2 separate regions of the Homo sapiens genome follow, and region 1 is linked to region 2. Evidence: promoter capture Hi-C in 16 types of primary human blood cells and fetal thymus (Javierre and others, 2016). All regions are on one chromosome and are shown on one strand. Each heading gives the region's core, a stretch centred on a gene start or on the middle of the fragment in contact. The rest is flanking DNA. Distances are from core to core; before and after follow the strand shown.

Region 1 (4,446 bases), core at 1-2,500, 4.4 Mb before region 2:
CCATCTCTTAAATAAAAAACTAAAGAAACCCCAAAAACAAAAAACACAACTTTCCCACATACCAAACTCTATATGGAATACGTTTTTTCCCTCCTACTTAAGAAGGGGATTCAGGGGACAACATGAATTGATAAGGAAGCCACGTCATTTTCAGTTGAGTTGAGACCTATTGTTGGCAAGTGCACTTACACTTAACCTTTGAGTCCATGGTGCTTGATATGTTTTTCAATTTGATTTTTCCTGTTGTTACTAGAATTGTTTTTTTAAAATCACTACCTCCGCCCTGGATCTAATAGCAAAGTAAACACACGTGTACTTATATACCAGCTAAATGTTGTTTGAAGTGAGAGGCTCTTTGATTGGGGTTAGTGATATTCTGTTGTTTTCACATTCTTGGTTAACAAATAAGTACTTAACCAGTAAAGAAGGCTGTAGAACAAAAGATAAAAATTCACAGGAATACCCCACCACCACCCTTTCTTCATGTTCTCATTCCCCAAAGGTAACTATTAAGTTTTGGTGTAGTCTCTCTGGAATTTTATCATTCAATATTATATATTTCTTATATATTATATATATTATTAAATATTAAATATCTCTTCTTTCTTGTTAAACACCAATGAGTTCCATTTTCTGATTTGCCCTTTGTGCTTTCAGATTCACATTCCTGAATCAGAAACATCTTTGGGAACTCCAGTTCTATGCCCAGGGGGTTGAGCACAGTAACAGGGAAGTGGACATCTCAGGAGATGGAGAGGCCTCTATCTTACACTTCTTCCCAAGTTTGGCAGAACTGAGAAATCCCTAGTGCAATGTAGGGAAAGGGAGTAAGAGATAGGAGATAGGGTCTAGAATTAGGCCTCCAAACAGGCCATCCAGTACCTGTTGTGACATTCTTTTTTTTTTTTTTTTTAAGACGGAGTCTCACTCTGTGGCCCAGGCTGGAGTGCAGTGGCATGATCTTGGCTCACTGCAACCTCCACCTCCCGGGTTCACGCAATTCTCTTGCCTCAGCCTCCTGAGTAGCTAGGACTACAGGCGCACGCAACCACATCTGGCTAATTTTTGTATTTTTAGTAGAGGTGGGGTTTCACCATCTTGGTCAGGCTGGTCTTGAAGTCCTGACCTTGTGATCCACCTGCTGCCTTGGCCTCCCAAAGTGCTGGGATTACAGGTGTGAGCCACCGCACCCGGCCTCCTGTTGTGACATTCTATCCAGCAGCTTCTCTGAATAGACTTTTAACCAGAATCTCAGCCTCAATGTTTTTAAAGGAGTTAAAATTTCAGTACCACTCAGTGATTGATTTATTTGGTACCTCTGTTACCAAGCACTTACTATGTGCCAGGAACTCTAGGCTGAAAGATATAGCAGTACCTACCCCCATGTTGCTAATAGCCTAGTTGGGGAAGATGACAAAGAATAAATTCTAAGTCTAGTATGTGTTTTAAAGAAGTCTGGGTGCCATGGGAGTATATACAAAAAATTGCCATTAAAACCAGATCCTGAGCTGGGCAGAGTGGCTCACACCTATAATCCCAGCACTTTGGAAGGCTGAGGCCAGTGGATCACTTGAGGTCAGGAGTTCGAGACCAGCCTGGCCAACGTGATGAAACCCTCATCTCTACTAAAAATAGAAAAATTAGCTGGGCATTATGGCTCACGCCTGTAGTCCCAGCTACTCGGGAGGCTGAGGCAGGAGAATCGCTGAAACCCAGGAGGTAGAGGTTGCAGTGAGCCAAGATCGCACCACTGCATTCCAGCCTGGATGACAGAGCAAGACTCCTTTTCAAAAAAGAAAAAAACAGATCCTGAGAATAAAGATAAGCACATTTATAGTTTGGTTAACTATAAAATGGAGTAAAATGTTAATTGACATGGTACCTCATAATTTCCTGGTGTTATGAAACTATCTTTCAGATCTTTGGGGTTCGTTATGGAATTTGCATAATTGGCAGTGAAATTTTTCTTACTTGCAGATTTATAAAATGAAGCATTTGGAAAATTCACAGTGTAACTTTTTTTGTTTTTTGAGACAGAATCTCACTCTGTTGCCCAGGCTGAAGTTCATGGCGCGATCTCGGCTCGCTGCAACCTCCACCTCCCGGGTTCAAGCAATTCTCCTGCCTCAGCCTCCTGTGTAGCTGGGATTATAGGCACGCTCCACCGCGCCTGGCTAATTTTTGTATTTTTTTAGTAGAGGTGGGATTTCACCATGTTAGCCAGGGTGGTCTCACACCCTTGACCTCAAGTTGTCTGCCCGCCTCAGTCTCCCAAAGTGCTGGGGTTACAAGCATGAGCCACCATGCCCAGCCACAGTGTAAATTTTATTTGTAATTATTGGATTTCTGGTTCAAGTTGATGTTTGAAAAATAAAAAAAGAAAAATATTTTAAAAATATAATTATTGGGAATTTTGTATCAAATGATTTTCTGGTTGGTTTTACCTGTTAGTGCTTCCTTCATTGCCCCCCACCCCGCCTCCCAAATAGAGGTTGGAATCATTATCCCTCATCTGAAATACTCTAAAATCTGAAGCTTTTTGAGCACTGACATTCCTTCCTTTGCCTGTGTCATAGAAGGAAAAAATTAAGCCAATGAGAGATTGCTAGAGGTAGCAGTGAGAAGCCTCTACTGTCTTGGGGGTGGGATAGGGTGGGGCATGGTGGTATACTGTGAAGGATCTGAGCTCTCTATTCACTGACTGGAGCTGTTGCATTGACATTAGATCCATCCAGTTAGTAGGATGACTGGAGATCTAACTTAGCTCATCTGTCTTTCCTTTGCATAGGAAATTAAGGGATCCAAAAAGCTGAGTCATGGTCCAAAAGGAAACGTTGATGTCAGGACAGCCATAGCCAAATTTTATCTCAAGGGTAAACATGAGACTGGGTAGGGATGGCTGTCAGTGCCTGGGGATTGGTGGGGCTTGGGGGTAGGTAGAAGAAAAGTGTCCTGGGTTAACTACTTGTTTATTTTTTTCATGGACACAATAAATGACCTGATCTTTCCTTGTTAAGGGCTGGGATTTATTTGAACCCTCAGGACAGGCTAGAAAGAATTGTGACTTTTTTTCATGTTAATACATAGGTAGCCTATGTTACCAAATTTTATTTTTTAAGATAGTTTATTATTTTTATTTTTTGAGATGGAGTCTCGCTGTGTGACCCAGACTGGAGTGCAGTGGCACGATCTCAGCTCACTGCAACCGCCACCTCCCGGGTTTAAGTGATTCTCATTCCTCAGCTTCCCGAGTAGCTGGGACTACAGGTGCGTGCCACCACGCCCAGCTAATTTTTGTTTTTTTAGTGGAGACAGGGTTTCACCATGTTGGCCGGGCTGGTCTCCAACTCCTGACATCAGGTTATCTTGCCTTGGCCCCCCAAATTGCTGCCATTATAGGCCTGAGCCACAGCACCCAGCCTTATTTTTATTTTTTTGAGACAGTCTGGCTCTGTTGCCCAGGCTTGAGTGCAGTGGTGCGATCTCGGCTCACTGCAACATCCACCTCCTGGGTTCAAGTGATTCTCATGCCTCAGCCTCCCAAGTAGCTGAAATTACATACGTGTACCACCATGCCTAGCTGATTTTTGTATTTTTAGTAAAGTTGGGGTTTTGCCATGTTGGCCAGCCTGGTCTCGAACTCCTCACCTCATGTGATCCTCCTGCCTCAGCCTCCCAAAGTGCTAGGATTACAGGTATGAGCCACCACGGCTGGCCTGTTACCAAATTTTCATGATCTGCAGTTCAAATCCTGGCTAATGACTAAACTTACCTTTGGGAGGTAAAAGGCAGAGAAGAATCATATCTGTTTTCTAAGAAGGACCTTAGAAGATTAAGATGAAACAATGTATAAAAACAAAGTAGCTTATACTTGCATAACTGGGCAGTTCACTGTTTTTATCAGTATAATCCTTTTTTTGCAATAGCAATTCAAAGAGCTTTTCCAGTGGTTGAACAGCAGTCATGGGTTTAAATTATGTTTGCTTATAACCACAAGAATCTTTATAGAGAACAAAATGTTTGTACTCTGGACTATCCTAGAGAATTCTACGAACATAGACTGTAATCATGACATTACTGTAGTCCTGTATATGCAAAAAGAATAAAAGCCCTCCTTTGACTACTCCCTTGCCTTCTGCTTCTCCCCCATCTTAGTTTCTACCCATGGGGTAACCACTGTTGCCAGATTTTTCTTCACAATTGTATGTACTGTACCTTTTTGAAATCTGGAAGTTTAAACTTCAGGCAGTTTTCTTTTTTTTTTTCCGAGATGGAGTCTTGCTCTGTTGCCCAGACTGGAGTGCAGTGGCGCGCCTTCCAGGTTCATGCCATTCTTCTGCCTCAGCCTCCCGAGTAGTTGGGACTACAGGCACCCGCTGCTGCGCCCAGCTAATTTTTTATATTTTTAGTAGAGACAGGGTTTCACCGTGGTCTCGATCTCCTGAC
Region 2 (7,533 bases), core at 2,599-5,098:
ACAGCCCATAGAAGCATAAACCAGATGAAGACAATGTGCCTATGGCTACTCTTCAGGTATTTTTAGTGACTGAGTCTATTACCTATTATCATAAATCTTACCATGAGCTCTCGTTTTTCCTAAGGAGTCTGAAATACAGCATTTTAATAGGCAGTACCCAACCTGACAACTGGATTAAATGCTAAAAATGCATTTATATCTATTTGTTGTTTGCACTTCTAGGTACAATTTCTTATAGAACGACTGCAGAGAAATTCAGCCTATGTGACCTAAAATACAGTTGAATGAGTACTTACTGCCCCTCTGTTCTTACTATTAATGAAGAAGACAGGTATCCTAGTGCCCTGTAGAGAAGGAATTTCTGAAACGTGAAGGACTGTGTGTTACCCTCAGAGAGGCACTTATGCACCTTCTTTATCCTTATTAGTTGTTCCTAAAACCTAAGATACAGGTATGGCAACTATAATCACTATGAGAATACATGTATATATATAACCCAGGAACCAAGCAAAACAAAATGCCAATTGTCCTCTCTGAAGATCAGCACCCTTGAAAAGTTCACACAATTCAAGTTTATACTTTTAATTATTTTCCTGAGGGACATGAAAATAACTGGAACAAAACAAAATAACAGTCTGAATTGTATGAACTGTATAAAGGAATTCAGCACAAAGCCTGGAAGCAGAATGCTTATGATCTGGTATGATTCACACCCCCTCTTTTCTACTTATAGAATGGCAGAAATCATAAAGCAAAACCATTGTAAATTTAACTTGGAAATGTAAAGAGCAATGTCAAATGTCCCAAGTCTATAGTTTAAGTGATTATAGAAAGAAATAATAGGCTTTACTAGTCACTGATAAACAATGTGGTTTAAAACATTTTCAGATTTGTTAAAATTTAAAGGAAACTAGTCTTATTTATGGATTTAATATTCATATTAACTTTTCCAATATCACAGAGTATCTCAAAACACTTTCAACAGTAAAGATGAGATTAACTTATTTCCAAAAACCCTTTGATGTATCATTAGTACAAACAACATGCAATTACACTACATTTTGAGACAAACAGAATGAATATGCTACCAAAGCAGCATGACATACAACACCATGCTAATAGTAGATGACAAGCAAACCTTAAAATTAGGGATGACGGGTGTGATGTTTTTGCATAGAAGTGATAGCTGACCCAGAAGGGCAGGCATCGGTGGCCTTATAGAGAAGCAGATTGGGATGCTAATAAAAATTGTAGGGGTAAGGAAGAGAAGGACAGGAGAATTAAGCTACAAAGCAAAGATGTGAAATATCTCCATTTTGCCTGTATGTTATCCACCCATCCAACCAACCAGTTATTAAAATACTTAAAAGGAACTAGACACTTATCAAGTCTTGTTCTTACTTGGGTCAAAGGCACATACAGTGTTTGCATGGTTGCATAAAAGTGCAATTTGATCTCAGTACAGAAAAATCTAATTGGTACTCACTCATTGAATTCACCCTCAACCTTGGTCTCATTAGTAAGTGCTCACTGACTGAAACTTTGCAACTTTTGGGTCAGTTGGTCCTCTAGCCATACATTCAACTCTGAGAAAGTCTCTAACCTAATCTGTTTTTAGCTTCAATGGCCTCTCCTGCCAGATAAAACCAAAGTAAGGAAATAGAATGTCTTGCGAAAAGCTGTGGAAACGCACAGGCAACTGGAATAATGGAGCCATATCCCAGATACAACTTGGAGCTATAACTTATCTCTTGACTTCTAAATTAAGACACAGATTAATGGCGCATACATATATATATATAACCTTATATCTATATATATCTCCTAGCATTAAACCAGGGACTGCTCTCAACCTTGTTCAACATAATGTTCAGTATATTTACTGCAAAAGGACACGCTTTCGGAGAAAAACAATGCCGTACAGCAATGTGCAAATCACTTGATCCTATAAAGGGTCAGTTTCCTTTCTGTAAAACAGGGTTATTTATCATTACCCTGCCTCATAGTGCCACTGAGAGGCTCAAACAACACAGTGAATGTGAAACTGCTGAAGTATTTTTACTATGTAAGGTGCTCCTTTTGTGAACGTCTAAACTTTCTTCTAATAAGAGCTTTACTGTAAGGTTCTTTAGAATATCCATATAAAGAAGATCTAAATTAATAGGGTTTTGGAGGTGGCGATGGAGAAAAATGATGATTGGGAGGGATACTGGGTCAGAATATAAGGCGTTAGTTCTGGAATTACAGTGAAGTCCTGATGCAAAACCAGAACAGTTATGTGCTTACCCTCTGCAGACCCTGGCCAACTCCCTCGCTGCCCGCCCGCCTCCTCCGCCCGACTGTTACTTTTAGGTGAACTACTGGGGAGAAGTTGAGTGTGGTGGTGTATGGGGAGGGACTTTCAACCCTGAAGATCAACTTCTTCCCCAATCCCTTTAACAAACACTCCTCCTCCTCTTCGGGCCTTGTTCAGTTAGCCGAAACTATTTCTGGTAAGAAAATGGCTGTTACAAAATTTCTTTTAGGCAGCGTCCTATGAGTACCTACTCCTTCCCTCACCATGAACTATTTCTAACAGATTCAGAGTCAGAAAATCGTGTTATGTGTATGTTTTGTTTCTTCCAAGGCTCACCCACAGGCCTCACCCTCCCAGTCTTAACGCTCCCATATATAAAATGAAAAGTGACAGCGCCTGTCAGCTCCATCCCACGGCCACCAAGAGGATGAATGAGTGCCTGGAAGGCGCCAGAAGTGGTGTCTGTTAAACACCCCGTCCACCACTGTTTATAAAGTATCGTGATGAGTCCCGTTATGCCTTTCCGCTCAAGGAAACCGCCTAGTTAGAACCAACACTCTCCGTCACTGAGGAAGGCAACACTGAAGTTGGCCGGGCACGTATTATGCACAGAATCTGTGTCGGGGTGCGGGGACGGAGCGACCCCCCGTTACCGGGCGGGGCGGGGCTCAGGGCAAGCCTACCTGTTGTTCCGGATGCTGACCAGCACGCAAAGCACCAGCTCCAAGTAGGTGCGCAGCACTTCCAGCCAACGAGCTGAGAGCTGCAGGGCCTCGACTTCCTCCCCTCCAGTCCCGGTGTCCGCGCCACCTCCGTCCCCTGGGCCACCGCCGCTCAGATAGTTCTCGGCGGCGAATTCAACACGCAGCTCTCGCACGAACCAGCCGCACTTGCGCATGAGGAATTCCAGCCGAGGCTGCTCCGCGGGCGAGACGCGGAGGCAGATGCGGAGCTGGGGCCACAGGGCCGGATAGAAGAGGCACTCACGCCAGTGCGAGCAGGAGGCCGAGGCCCGCAGCCGGTCGGGCGCCGGCAGAAAAGAGAAGATGTGCACGATCAGCTCGCTGGGCAGCGACGCAGCGCCCGCCGCCTGCCCGCACAGAGCCATCCGGCCCCGCCGCCGGCTGCCGGCTCCCGGCCGCCCCCGCAGTACCCGGAGCAGCCCCCGCAGCCGTCGCAGCTGCTGCAGCCGCAGCCGCCGCCACCGCGCCACCCGGGCGGCCCCGGCTCGGGTTCGAGCTCCCGGCGGTCGGGGCTGCGGCACTGACAAGAACAACAACATCAATGACTAGGAAGAAGGGGGCGGAACCGTCGTGGGTCTCGGCGGAACCAAGTAGAACACAAGTTGTGGAGAGGGGGAAAGGCCTCTGCGGGCGTGGCCTGCCGGGAGCCAGCCTCTGTCTTCTCAAACTCTACTCACGTGCGTCCGAGGCCGGCACACTGAGTAACTGCACTGCCCTCGCTCGTAAACTTCAGCGGCCCGGAAGCCTCAAGGCGTACTGTAAGGAAAAGGCAGCCCTCCCTGCGCCGGTCGGCAGAGACAGAGAAGTGGTAGGAGCTGAGTTTGACGTCGCCGCTGGTGGGAGGAGTCCGGCGCGCACCGGCGCGACTTCCGGAAGAGGGGAGCGCCCGATTGCCTGTAGGGACGGGAGGCGCGGCACGTGATCTCTGACGCACGCAGGCCGCGGGGCGGGGCGGGGCTGGGCGGGGCGGGGCGGGGCGGGGCTGGGCGGGACTGGAACCGGCACTTGGCACCCCTTACGCCTTACGGTGGCCGCTGCGCCCAGTCACATCTGTAAGTCGGTTAATTTTGGCGCTCGGTCGATGGAGGTGGCGGTACTCTGGTTTAGTGCGAAAGGTCGTCACGCTTCTTTGTAAAACGTTTCTCAGTTTGGGCTGAGGACCCTGAGCCAAAGTGGCGGCATGCAGGGTCTTTCTCAGCCATCCCACCTGCCCAGAGTAGGGTTAAGAATTCCTGAGATTGCGCCGCTGAGAGGGAGCTGGCGGACGGGCGGGCTAACCCCGGCGGGCTGTGCCGGGAGGGGCGGTGTGGGGCGTGGCGGAGGCCGCGAATGGACCTGCCCCCTCGGTCCAACCACGCAGGTGGACTTCCGCGCACTCGCTGGTGTGTGGGGAAGCAGTGAGGACAGCGTCACCCTTTGGATTCAGAGGGAGAGAAAAAAATTGGCAAAGGGATCTGAGATCCGCAGGTTGTGACCAGCCTCTTCTCCAGGGCTTGAGGAAGGGTCTCTTTTCCCTGTGCTGAGATTTAAGGCTCTCGTTGAAAAGTTCACAGTAATGACAGAGCTTTGATTTTTTTTCTTTCTTCTTCTTCTTTTTTTGCCTGGTATCCCTAACTTAGATTTTCCAAACCATGTCCCTAACTTCACCACAGCCTACTGCAAAGTAAACTCTGGTTGCAAAGAGTGGTGAAGTCAGAAAAGATTAAGTGACTTTATGTAATAATCGAGGGTTGCTTTAGGGAGGCTGCCTCTTTATGTAATAATTGAGAGTTGCTTTAGGGAGGCTGTGATGTTGGAATAGCATCGTTCTTTTGTGGTAAACACCAAGACTTTTTGGACTTTTTTTTTTTTTTTTGGTTTTAAGGAGCGGAGAATTTAATAGGCAAGAAAGAAGGAAGAAGGCTGAAGGAAGAAGCTCCCCACTACAGAGACAGACGGAGGGGGCTCCCAAGACGAAAGAGGAGACCCCCATTCTAGATGTTCTTAACCCTTTGAGGGCAAAGCTCTCCGTTTAATGCCTTGCACATATCAGGTTGCCAACAACATGGTGTGGTTTATCAATTGTGATAGGTTACTTATTCGAGCCCCTGTTTACAAGAGTTTTAGGTAATTATACCTTATTAATTTTAATGAACTCTTAGAGGGCGACCCCAGTCGTGGGTTCGGCAGGATGAAACACTACCCATTTACCAGTTTACAGACATTTAGGTCGTTTCGAGTTATGAATAATGCTGTGAACATTCATGTGCAAGTCTTTATGTGGACGTATGTTTTAATTTGTCTTGGGTAGATACCTAGGAATGAAAGTGATGGGTCGTAGGGTAGTTCTATGTATAACTTTTTGAGAAACGGAAACTTTTTCCAAAGTGGCTGCATCATTTTTCATTCCCACCAGCCATGTATGAGGGTTTCCAGTTCTCTGACTTTTTTTTTTTTAATATTCTAGAAATGCACTGTAATTTGAGATTGATATTTTTTTCTTAGCATTTTGCTAGCAACAAGCTACCATCTTGGAGATCATTAATAATTAGTCTTTAATTATTAGGAATGGTTCCTGAGTAAAATGAAAATATGTCAGTCTGCCATAAATGAAATTCATTATTTTAGAATTTCAAACTTTCTTCTTAAATGAAGTGTGGTAGGAATCCTATTTTAACAACTGTAAGCTAAAGAATTAGCTGTGAATCTTGCCCAGTTTCAATAATAAATCAGTGAATTCCAATGGTTGCACAAAATTTATCTTATCAGGCCAATATATTTACTATTAATTAAATGTATATTGAGTATGTATATTTAGCATGTTAAGTGAGTTAGATTCTTTTGACATATATTCTATACTGCTAAAATAAAATTGACTCATATAGGACAGAATGGAATTACATTTTGTGAAGTTATAAAATCTGAGCTATGATTCAGAGTGTGGGAGGAAGTACTGACGTTATGAAGCTCATAAGTACCTAGTAGTACTAAGCTCCAGGTTCCAAAAGTGGCATATTGTCACTATAGCAACCACCATGCTTATTTGGATTTGAAACCCAGGCAACGAATGGTGGATAGGACTATAATATTAAGGTAGGTATCTGCTCTGGTGGATTGATATGCCTGCCTGTTGATAGTCAATGGTCTGTTCTGTTTTTCTTGTTATACTCATGGTTAATTCTTTTAGAGATAAATTAAGCACTTAATATTTTTATATTTCTCCTTTTCTAACATGCTAAGTTTAGTGTTTTTCCTAGTTAGGTAATTGGGGTATTAAATATATCTTACTATAGCTTTCTTTCCATTTTTGCTTAAGTTTGGCAACTTTCTTTGGGTTAAATATAACTTTTATTATACTGAATCACTTGCAATTTTATAATAGAAAAAAGTAACCATGACAGATTTTATTTTAGCTGCATCATGAAACGATGTTCAAGGCTACCAGTAAACATGAAAATTGCCTAAATTCTAATATTTCTTGAAAAAATACAGTTTTCTGAGTGATGTCTGGGTTTCAGACATTGTTGACAGGTAGAGGTGACATAATACCCTTCCAATTATCTCTTAGCATGCACCCATAAATTTACCTAGAGGCACAGGAACCTCCTGCGACAGTAGATCTGGGTACCTCATTCCCGTCACCCTTGTCTGGTGGATTGAAGTGTTTCCTAGTGGAATCATATTACAGTAAAAAGAAATGAGGGATTGAAGGGAATTCATCTTTAGAGGAGGAAGTCTGCGTTGGTGAGCTACATGACAGAGGACCGCGTCATTGGTTTGTCAGTCTAGGTGTAGCATGTCGCTGATATCACAACTTTTTCTAACCAAGCCACTCATGAGTTGATTGTGCAAGACCTCTCTCCATAAAGCAGGGATTGATAGTTCATATATCAAAGGAATCAGATACGTGTAGTGAGAGAAGAATTGGGTACTGTGCAATATAGGGAGATGGAAAGATTTTGTCTTACAGGAGGATGCTTTTCGCAAGTGGGAAAGTGGGCTCTGTGTTTCCAGATTTCCTAGTTTTTCAAAAGTAACTAAAATCCTCATTTTTAAAAAGGTTAAACCTTCAGATTGCCAATTTATTTACATTAAAAATATTCTGTGGGCATAACAAAACCAGATTTAGTCTTCAGGGCACCAGATTTCAAATTCTTTACCAAAGTTCTCAAAACTGTGGGCCAAGGCCATATTTTGTCTCTGTAGCTAGGCCTACTAGCTAATCCCCGCATTTTAAGTCCACTTCCAGAGCTATTTTTTTCCCTATCTATCCCATTTAGTTAAAAAATGAATTCAAAAGGTTTAACTTGAATGCCTGTTTTATTGCATTACTGATTTCTTCCCTTTTATTTAAGAGGATGGGTGTTTTCAGAGGTACCCTTTATTGCTTAAGTACATATTAAAAACTAAGTGTTATGTTTAACACAGCTGGTTCAACCAATAAAATTCCTTGACTTCTAGTTAAAATCAGTAATTGACTAATGATCCTCGTTGGAGTTGTGCAGCTTAGATTAT

What was found. The method cuts DNA at HindIII sites, captures the fragments that hold promoters and counts their contacts. A CHiCAGO score of 5 or more calls a contact.
Region 1: a fragment that was not itself captured here is called in contact with the fragment with the promoter of FBXO33 in region 2 in 1 of 17 cell types (total B cells); the score reaches 7.2 in total B cells.

The regions. Positions count from the first base shown.
Region 1 is chr14:35,047,996-35,052,441 of GRCh38, forward strand. The region is part of intron 1 of FAM177A1 (family with sequence similarity 177 member A1); the gene reads left to right. Among named protein-coding and RNA genes, the nearest start is that of FAM177A1, 3.9 kb to the left of the region's middle. The HindIII fragment of the contact is 2,565 bases long and covers 1-2,533 here.
Region 2 is chr14:39,428,585-39,436,117 of GRCh38, forward strand. FBXO33 (F-box protein 33) reads right to left here and starts at 3,849. Exons shown (of 4, transcript NM_203301.4): 1 at 2,980-3,849. The coding sequence starts at 3,578. LOC105370461 (a long non-coding RNA gene) reads left to right here and starts at 3,855. Exons shown (of 8, transcript XR_007064121.1): 1 at 3,855-3,935. RefSeq lists silencers at 2,838-2,967, 3,408-3,537, 4,278-4,447 and an enhancer at 3,638-3,887. The HindIII fragment of the contact is 7,836 bases long and covers 1-7,533 here.